Regions from separate parts of the Homo sapiens genome. Here region 1 is linked to region 2. The links are contacts of gene promoters, found by promoter capture Hi-C in blood cells and fetal thymus (Javierre and others, 2016). All regions are on one chromosome and are shown on one strand. The core of a region is centred on a gene start or on the middle of the fragment in contact, and the rest is flanking DNA. Distances in the headings are between cores, read along the strand shown.

Region 1 (4,612 bases), core at 54-2,553, 1.7 Mb before region 2:
CCCCTTCCATCCCTGTCCTCAGGGTCCAGCTCTTTACTGTCACCTACCTGAGTCCCCTACTTTTAGGGATGCCAGTATAGGCTTGGGGGTAGCAGGAAGGCTCCTGGTCAGAGGAGCCCCTGCTATAGTGGAGATCATGTGACTCCTTTGGGTCTGGCCCAATCTGCATCTGTGTCCTGGGCCGTGGCTGGAGGGAGCTCACCTGGGCTTCCTTTTCCATTTTCCTGACTCTCCCTAAATCACTCAGTACATCTGACAGAGTCCAGAAGCTTGTTCATCTTGGGTGGAAGGGAAGAGAGTCTGGGGGCTGGGTAGCTTGCTGGGGAGGGTGGAGATGCAAGGGTGGGTGAGGATGAGGGCCACCTGCCACCATCCCTGAGACCATGATCAGGCAAGTGGTGCAGGCAGAAGGCTTGTGGATGACTGTGCAAGCCTGAAAGCACAGCCTGATAACAATCAATAAGACAATTGTCCCGCAAGACTCCCCTCTGAGCTTCAGAATAGAACAGTGTTTCTGGGAGAACAGAGTGGGCTGAGTCCTCCTTAGCTCTTTGTCGCATGGAGGAAAATGCATTAGAATTGACATCTTAGAAGTGGCATCTTCCTAGGAAATACAACCCGACCAAAATGGGTGGAAGAAGGTGCTGTGGAAAGGAGACAGCCTGCGTGTTTTCTATGCCTCTCGTGGAGTACAGGCTCATCCAGCAGAGCTGCCTTCAGAGCAGAAAGAAGGGATGGGTGACCCTTTGAGACTGAGCTGATGGTGTCAGGCTGCAAATCAGTGAAGGTCACATGAAGTGTTGTTTGCTATTGGGGAGCACGGGATTCCACAAAACCTGCCAGAGATGAGCAATTTTCTTTTTATAGAAGTTCAGTAAATGTCTCAGAAGGACCCCTGCAAAGTCCCCGAGTCCCTTTCCCATCCAGATCCAGCACAAGCAACTCCCTCTGAGTACAGCCCATGGGGAGCTGCTCAGACTTGCCCCTGCTGCTGTCCACCTGCTTCTCACCTGGATGCGCAGTGACTGACAGATGAAACTGTCTTACTTATCTTAGTGATATGTCAGCTGATATCTCATCAGAAGGCAGAATTCTACCACAAACCTCCAACCACTGCCTCCTGGTGTTATTCCCACAGTTGTGGGATTAAGGAATGTTGCAGATGTAATTAAGGTTACTAATCAGATGACCTGAAAACAGAGAGATGTTCTGTATGGGCCAAACCTAATACATGAATATGTTAAAAGCAGAGACTGGCTGGTTGGGGAAGCAGAGCCAGAGACTTTGCAGATTTTGGAAGAATTGGACACACCATTGCTGGCTTTGAAGAGGGAGGGGCTCATAGAGCAAGATTTGAGGGTGGCCTCTAGAAACTGAGAGTGGTGCTTGGCTGACAGCTAGCAAGAGAATGGGGACCTGATTCCTACAGATGCATGGAACTGAATTCTGTCAACGACATGGATGAGCTGGAAGCAAACTCTTCCCCAGAGCCTTAGAGATGACCGCAGTCTGGCTGACAGCTTGGTTCAAGCCTTGTGAGACCCTGAGCAGAAAAGTGAGTTGAGCCTGCCTGACTTCAGATCCATGGAACTGTGAGCCCATAAATAGCGAATGTTTTAAACTGCTGAGTTTGCGCTAATTTGTTACTCAGCAATAGGGAACGAATACATCCCAGGAACATCAGGGTCTCCTCCTTCCCTCCCCCTACCTCTCATGCTTCGATTGGGTCTACCTGGACCTCATCTTACAGCTTTTGTACTCCTGTCCTGCACCACCTCCCCAACTCTCGCCTCTCCCTGTGTCCCACAGGGCTTCTCCCTCTCTCCAGACATATCATGCCCTTTCATACCCCGGGGCCTTGGACGTGCTGGTCCAGCTGCGTGAACTGCATGTTTTCTTGAACGGCGACTCTGCTTGCAGGTGGAATGCATGGAGTGCACGGGCGTCTGCCTAGAGAGGAGATGTGGGGGCTGGGCATGGAGGTAGCCGAGGAGTCAGCCTGCGGGCCCTGGGCCCTACCAGAGCTGGGTTCCACCTTAGCATTTAAGGAGGTGGCCTATACAGAGCAGGTGGCAGTGTCGGGACAGGGGGCTCCTTCCAAGGTCACCATGGGATTGGTGGGCAGGCCTGTGCCTGTGGTCCAGTCTCTGGCTCTGATTGGAGCACGCTCATTCCTACAGAACATTGGCAACCCTCTATCGCTCACCTGCAGCTGGGGATTAAAAGACCCAAGGGCCACTGACTGGGCCACTGAATCACTGATTTTCATCCCCAAATCTTTTCCCTTATATGAAATTTCCCAAGTGCTGTCAAATCACAGATTCTTAGTGTTGGAGGGAAGCTTAGTTATTCTTCATTTCACAGGCAAAGAAATGGGCTCAGAGAGGTGAGTCCATAGTTGCAGTGAGGTCCAGGTCTCCTCATCAGGTCTGGGCTTTGTTGACCCAGGGCCTTTTGGTCCAAAGTTGAAACAAAGGCCTTTTAGCATCCCCTCTGGGCTGCTATCCGATGCCTAGATGATGGGCCAAACACAAGCAGGATAGCTATGGAATTCACGGTTCTCCAGAGAAGGAAGCAGATGGGAAAGTGAGACCTGCCTCGCCTAATTTTCTTGTACTACAGTCTTTTGGTTAAAGCATCTCTCATTTTGTTATTGTTGCTTGTGGCTTCCCATTATGAGGAGTTGACGCGTTTGTCTGTCTGTCTAGCCTCTGGATGTGGGACAGGCAGATCAATGAGATCCAGGAAAAGTTTGTGTCTTGCTGTGTGAAAGCTGAGGCTGACCGAACAAAGTCACTCAGTTATGGGAACACTTGTTAAAAGGATGTCAAAGCTTTTATTTTCCCCCCTCAAAGTGGGTCTCTTGTCCTATAACCACTGACCATCTTGATCTCATACCGAGCCATTGATGTGGTTTTACTTCACCTCCAGGGGAGGTGGGATTTGCTACTGAGTTTCATGATTCATTTTTCAGCTTTCAGAGTTTGCTTTGGTTTGAGGTTTACATGCCTGTCAGTGATGAAACATGGTCATTAGAATTGATTCCGATTTTTGACACTTGCGTTATCCCTACCCTGCAATGGTGGATTGGGGTCACTCATTTACAGCCTATCTTCTGCAAGTGGGAAAATTCAAGAGAATAATTAAAATGTGTTGCGTTTTCACTATGACAAAGTTCAGACAAATAGAATTCTAAGGAACAACAGTGAAACAACAGTAAAAAGCAAAATTGAAAGGAAAGGAACAGCTACACTCTGGAGAAAGTATCCTCTTTTGCAGCAAGATTAAATTTCCCTAGAGTGATTCACGGCAGCAAAGCAATTCATGGAACTCCCGCGTTGAGCAAGAATTTGATGCTAACATTCCAGGAAGGAGGCTGCAACTGCAGGTTAGGCTCAGCTATCATAAGACCAGTTAAAACCATGGTGTCTTGACATGTCTGCAAATCACTCAAGCCCTGCAAGGCCGAAACAATGACCAAGATAAAGTCCAGGGAGTTGGTAGGTGGCCCACATGTCACCAAATGATCCACTTGGGCTGACTGAGGGTTTGAGGTCCTGCCAGGCTGTGTGGATGCCCACAGTCCCCATGCAGGGGAGGGTGAGTGAGTTTCTGCTTTCACCGTCATGAGCAGGGGCAAGCAGCTGTTCTCCTTCTATGTGGCCCCTAGGCCCCTGGGTATGCTCAGTCTCTCCAAGAGCTTGGAGAAGACTCAGGAGAAACAACTGCCCACCCAGAGGGGCTGCAGGAGCTGGGGGTCCCTCGGCGGCAGCATTCTCTGCTGGGGAAGGAGCTTAGCCATCTGGAGCTGCCTGTCCATGCTGGGTTCCCTGGCCTTGATCTTGATTATGTTGATAGAGAAGCAGACCACCCCACAACTGGGAAGCCCATTCCAAGGCAAATGGGCCATTCCACTTTCAGAGCTCCCCAAGGGGGCCCCGGCAGCTAAAGTGAGGCCTGAGCAGAACTTGCTGGCTTCCTCTGGTCACCAGACTCCTGCAGTGCCCATATGAGGTCAACAGTGTGGCATGAGGCCCAAATGATATCAGGTAGGGGTTACAGGGATTAAACTAGGAGCCCAGGGGTACACCCCCAGCTGCGTCCTCCAAGGGACTATCATCATAGGCACTTCTCAGTGGTCACTGCAGGCTCAGAGGACAGCTGCTGAAGCCCACTAGATGAGGCCATGTGCCATAGTCTGAATATGTCCTCTAAAATATATGTGTTGGAAATATAATCCCCAGTGTAATGGTGTTGGGAGGTGGGCCTAATGGGAAGAGTTTAGGGCATGAGGGCTCTGCCCTGGTGAAAGGATTAGTGCCCTATAAAAGAGCTTGATGGAGGGAGTTTGGTTCTTTTTCATCCCTCTATTCCTCTTGCCATGTGAGGATGCAGTGTTCCTGGCCCCAGAAAATGCAGCAAAGAGGTGCCATTTTGGAAGCAGAGAGCAGCCCTCACCAGACATTGAACCTGCTGGTGCCCTGATCTTGGATTTCCAGCCTCCAGAACTTCCAAAAAAATTTCTATTTTTTTAAATAAATTACCCAGTCTCAGGTATTTGGTTATATCAGAACAAACAGATGTACACACTGTGCTTAGTGTTTAGGGGCTT
Region 2 (4,283 bases), core at 1,771-4,270:
AAAACCTTAGCTTTATTCAGCAAAGTCTAAAAGTTTTTTTTTATAACTGTCTCACTTTAATTCACAATTCAATCACTTCTCAAGAACTCAATTATCATGCATCCTCCTCACATAACCTAGAAAGTTTACCAAACTCAGAAAAGCTTAGGCGTTCACATGCCAACCTTAATTTTCCTGACTTTTCACAAAACATACAAAAATCTTCAGTGAATCTGTAACAAGGTCACATCACAGCATGAATCCTGCTCTATAAAGCTCACACAACTGAAAGATGAATGTAACAACTTTGCTGAGACTTTAAAAACAAAACAAAATACGTTCTGCTTATACAAAATGAAAAAATACACTCAAAGTGAAAGTCCTCCTTCCCTAGAACCAGCTCATTCCCTTCCCCAGAAGAAGCCACAGTTATCACAGTTACATGTAATGTAACCTTCCAGAAAATGTTCAACGTATCTACATACAGAAATAGAGTTGTATATTACCATTTGGCTTGTTGTTGCTATTTTACATAAATGGATCATATGTTCTGTTGGAGCTATTCTACATAAATAGGTTCATACATTTTTTCTTTTTTTTTAAGAGACAAGGTCTTGTTGTGTCACCCAGACTGGAGTGCAGTGGCTCCATCATAGCTCACTGCAGCCTCAAAGTCCTGGGCAGTCTCCATCTCAAAAGAAAAAAAAAGAAAAGAAAAGGAAATTTGGTTATAGAGCTATGCCTCCTACAACAAATTACAAATATGGAGCCCAGATAACAGATGAGACCTGGTGTATTCTGCACTACTTACCCCCACCCACCTAAAGTGCTGCATGCTGTTTGAGGCTCCTGTGACTAGGAGAGTTATCCTATTCCTTAGAGGCTGCTGAGAGCACCAAATTTTGGACCCACCTCTAAGAGAAATAAAGGCACCCAGGAAACTCCTTCACCTGTAGTACCCTTGACCTCATGTTTTTCTTTGCACTGCTTATTGCTGGTTCAACAGTAAAGCAAAGCAAAGCCTAGGTAATGTTAGCCAAGCCTGAGTCGTCATTCTTGCCAATTCTCAAAGGAGGCGGGGTCAACTTTAAGAAACCATGATGTATGTCCTATCTCATCAGGAAATCAAGGCTAAAGAAAAAAAAAAAAAGAAACCATGATACCCAAAAAAATTTTCGTTTATTATCTTTTATTATCTGATATTCTCTCTTCTGTCCATTCAGATCCTAACTTAAAGTCTGTCCAGACATTCTGCACAAATATTCCTTTAATTGCATTCAAGTCATAACGACCAAAAAAATAGAATATGGTGCATATTAGTAGCTGTACTTGCAATCCCTTTATATCTAACATATTGTTGGTACACTTAACGGAAGTGAAGTCCCGGCATGACTAAGCTTACCCAAAAGATGATGGCATTCAGGCTCTAATCACTCCAGTGCTAGTCTATGCTTCCAGCTGAATTTCTTACTATTCTGCTTATGCCACACTTGCCTTATGTTACGTCCCAAATACACCACACATGTTCACATCTCCATGCCTTTGACCATGTTCTTGTCTCTGTCTGGAATAATAAGTAAGGAATAAAGTCATTCATCACACTCCTGAAGCACTGCTACGTGCTAGTGGCAATTTACATTAACAATCTCATCTCATCTTCATAACAAACCTATAAAGTTGGTATTGTTTTTCCTGTTTTACACGTGAGATAAGTCTGCCCAAGAACCCTCACAAATGGCAAAATCCACTGCCTATTAAAGAATGCCTTGGAACCCCTTTCAAATGGCGAAACCCTGCAGGTATTACAGCCCTTTCCTCTTACCATGCCTTGAAAGTTCACACAGCCTACTAATAACCAGGATCTGCTTCACTACACTAAAACCAATCACGACTTACACGCTTTTCACTTCTGCTTAACAGATTATAGGTGCTCAACAAATGCATGTCAAAATTAAAACACTGGTCCTCTGGCTTAACCCGGAGGTTAAGGGTGGAAACTGCTATTCCACCCTTCACGACCCTTTTAGCTTTTCCCTGCACTGCCAGTGAAAGGAACTGAGCTGTAACAGTATTCCCTAGGATTGTCAGCCTCCTTCAAAGCCTTCAAAGCTCTGTATTGTATTGCTAATGATGTCTCCTCCCGTAGAAGGTAGCTCAAGGGCAAGATCCATACCATCCACATTCTTATCGCCAGAGCTGAGGAAAATAAAAAGTGCTCAAAATTGTTTAAATGAAGTGGAACAGTCCCTCAAGACTAACTTTCTAAGAGAAAATGAACAAGAGGAAAAATTGTTCCAGCTGAGCAGCTTCAAATTTAAGATTCTCCGTAATAATAAAAGGCAGTTTCACCGCAGCTTTTACAACTCCACCACTAATAGCTGAGTTTACAGAAAGCCATTACACAGCAACAATAAAGCCTGGTAGCAAGGATTAAATCCCCAGGGTATATATTGACCTTGGCTTGTCTGGAGCGGAGGGCGTAAGCTGCACTTCTGTTTGCCGCGCTGAATGCGGTCACTTTACAGGTAAGCTGCTCGGGGGTACACGTTTAGGTTATTAAAAGCAAGAAATAGGTGCACAAGGAAGCGGCCACGCTGGGTGAGTAGGGAGGTGAGAAAGGGGAGGGACCCAGGTTCGGTGCGCCTGCCTGACCTCGACCCCGCGTCCTGCCGGCGGACGCTGCACCTTATGCCCGTCCTGAGAGCGAGCGGCCGCCCGCTGCCCCGCGCCTGCCCAGCGTTCGCACCTCACCTCGGTTCTCCTCCTCCAGGTGCCGCACCCGCAGCTCGTCCTCCGTCTTCATCTCAGAGCTGTAGCCCCTTTTCGGGGCGGGACCCCCGGCCGCAGGTACCCAGCCCTGGGCCCAGATCGCCGGGCCCGCTCGCCGGCCTGCCAACGAGCCGGGCAGCCTCAACCCCGGGCAGAGCCACGCACTGCAAGCGGCCACCAGGCGGGCGCCGCCAGCATGCAGGGATCCCAAGGCCCCAGGTGCCGCCGCCACCGCGGCCGCCATGTTGTCTGTTTACGGCGTGGACCTGCGACGGCCGCTCCGCCCCCGCCCGGCGCCGACCTGCCGCGCGCACGCGCACGGCGTCCGGACCCGCCGCCTCGCTCCGGCTTGGCCCCGCCCTCCGGAGCCGTGTTCCCGCCCCTCACTGCCCCGCCGAAGCCCGGTGACCCGAGGCCTTGCCCCATTCTCCAAGCGAGATTGGATGGTTTGTCCAATACAAAAGGAAAGAAAGTAGTTTTCCAAGGTTATGGAATAATTCAGGGAAGACTTTTCTATAAGAACCACCCGGAGGGAATTATCTCCCCGTACTCCCTGGACCATGCCCTGCGGTCCTGTGTTAAGTAAGCTGCAAAAGTGAACAAAAAAGTTTTGTCTCCTCAAGTTGGCTGAAAGTGTGGCAGCCCATCGTTGGTCACTGCCTTACTTATGGATCTCAGGTTGTTGGTTTAGCGTCCCTGATAAGCATAAATGATGTTTACTACGTGGCGTTCAGGAAAAGGATGAGAACAGCAAACAGGCAAAGGAGTTCTTTCTCCAGCCCACCCACTCGTACCGATGTCCCATGGCCCTTCCTGGACGGAAAGAGTCTTACAGGGGTTCAAACAAGCCATACGCTGAGATGGGATTTAGAGTATGTAGCTCTTCCAGAAACTCGGGATATCAATTTAGTGTGTAGGTACTCATCAAAGCACGTTGCAGTATAATTAATGCTACCTAGCTTTTATCAGATCTCTAATGGGAAAGCTTGCATTTAAGAATACTGGGCAGGGGGCGGTGGCTCACGCCTGTAATCCAAGCACTTTGGGAGGCCGAGGCAGGTGGATCACCTGAGGTCAGGAGTTTGAGACCAGCCGGGCCAACGTGGTGAAACCCTGTCTCTACTAAAAATACAAAATTAGCCAGGTGTGGCGGCACACGCCTGTAATCCCAGCTACTCGGGAGGCTGAGACAGGAGAATTGCTTGAACCCGGGAGGCGGAGGTTGCCCTGAGCTGAGACTGCACCATTGCACTCCAGTCCAGGCAACAAGAGTGAAACTCTGTCTCAAAAAAAAAAAAAAAAAAAAAAAAGAATACTGTTTGAAAAGTGTGCTGCTATGAGCATACGTCTAGTGCCACAGAAATTTCTTGTATTTTTTAGTCCTAAGCAAAACATCCTTCATTATGTCCTCAACTTTTATCCAATGTAGAAACAAAAAGTAGACTGAATTCCATTACTGCATCTGCTGTAAAATGATGTTGAAGGCACTTTTATTTTTATTTTTATTTTTTATTTTTTGACAGGTTCTGGCTCTG

The links. Contacts are between HindIII fragments. The CHiCAGO score rates a contact against its expected background, and 5 or more counts as called.
Region 1: a contact is called between a fragment that was not itself captured here and the fragment with the promoter of AUH in region 2, in 1 of 17 cell types (activated CD4 T cells). The highest score is 5.1, in activated CD4 T cells.

Annotation. Positions count from the first base shown.
Region 1 is chr9:89,611,135-89,615,746 of GRCh38, forward strand. No RefSeq gene overlaps it. Among named protein-coding and RNA genes, the nearest start is that of GADD45G, 8.4 kb to the left of the region's middle. RefSeq lists enhancers at 211-759, 3,291-3,832. The HindIII fragment of the contact is 2,072 bases long and covers 268-2,339 here.
Region 2 is chr9:91,358,898-91,363,180 of GRCh38, forward strand. AUH (AU RNA binding methylglutaconyl-CoA hydratase) reads right to left here and starts at 3,021. Exons shown (of 10, transcript NM_001698.3): 1 at 2,731-3,021. The coding sequence starts at 2,992. RefSeq lists a silencer at 2,752-3,191. The HindIII fragment of the contact is 2,357 bases long and covers 1,375-3,731 here.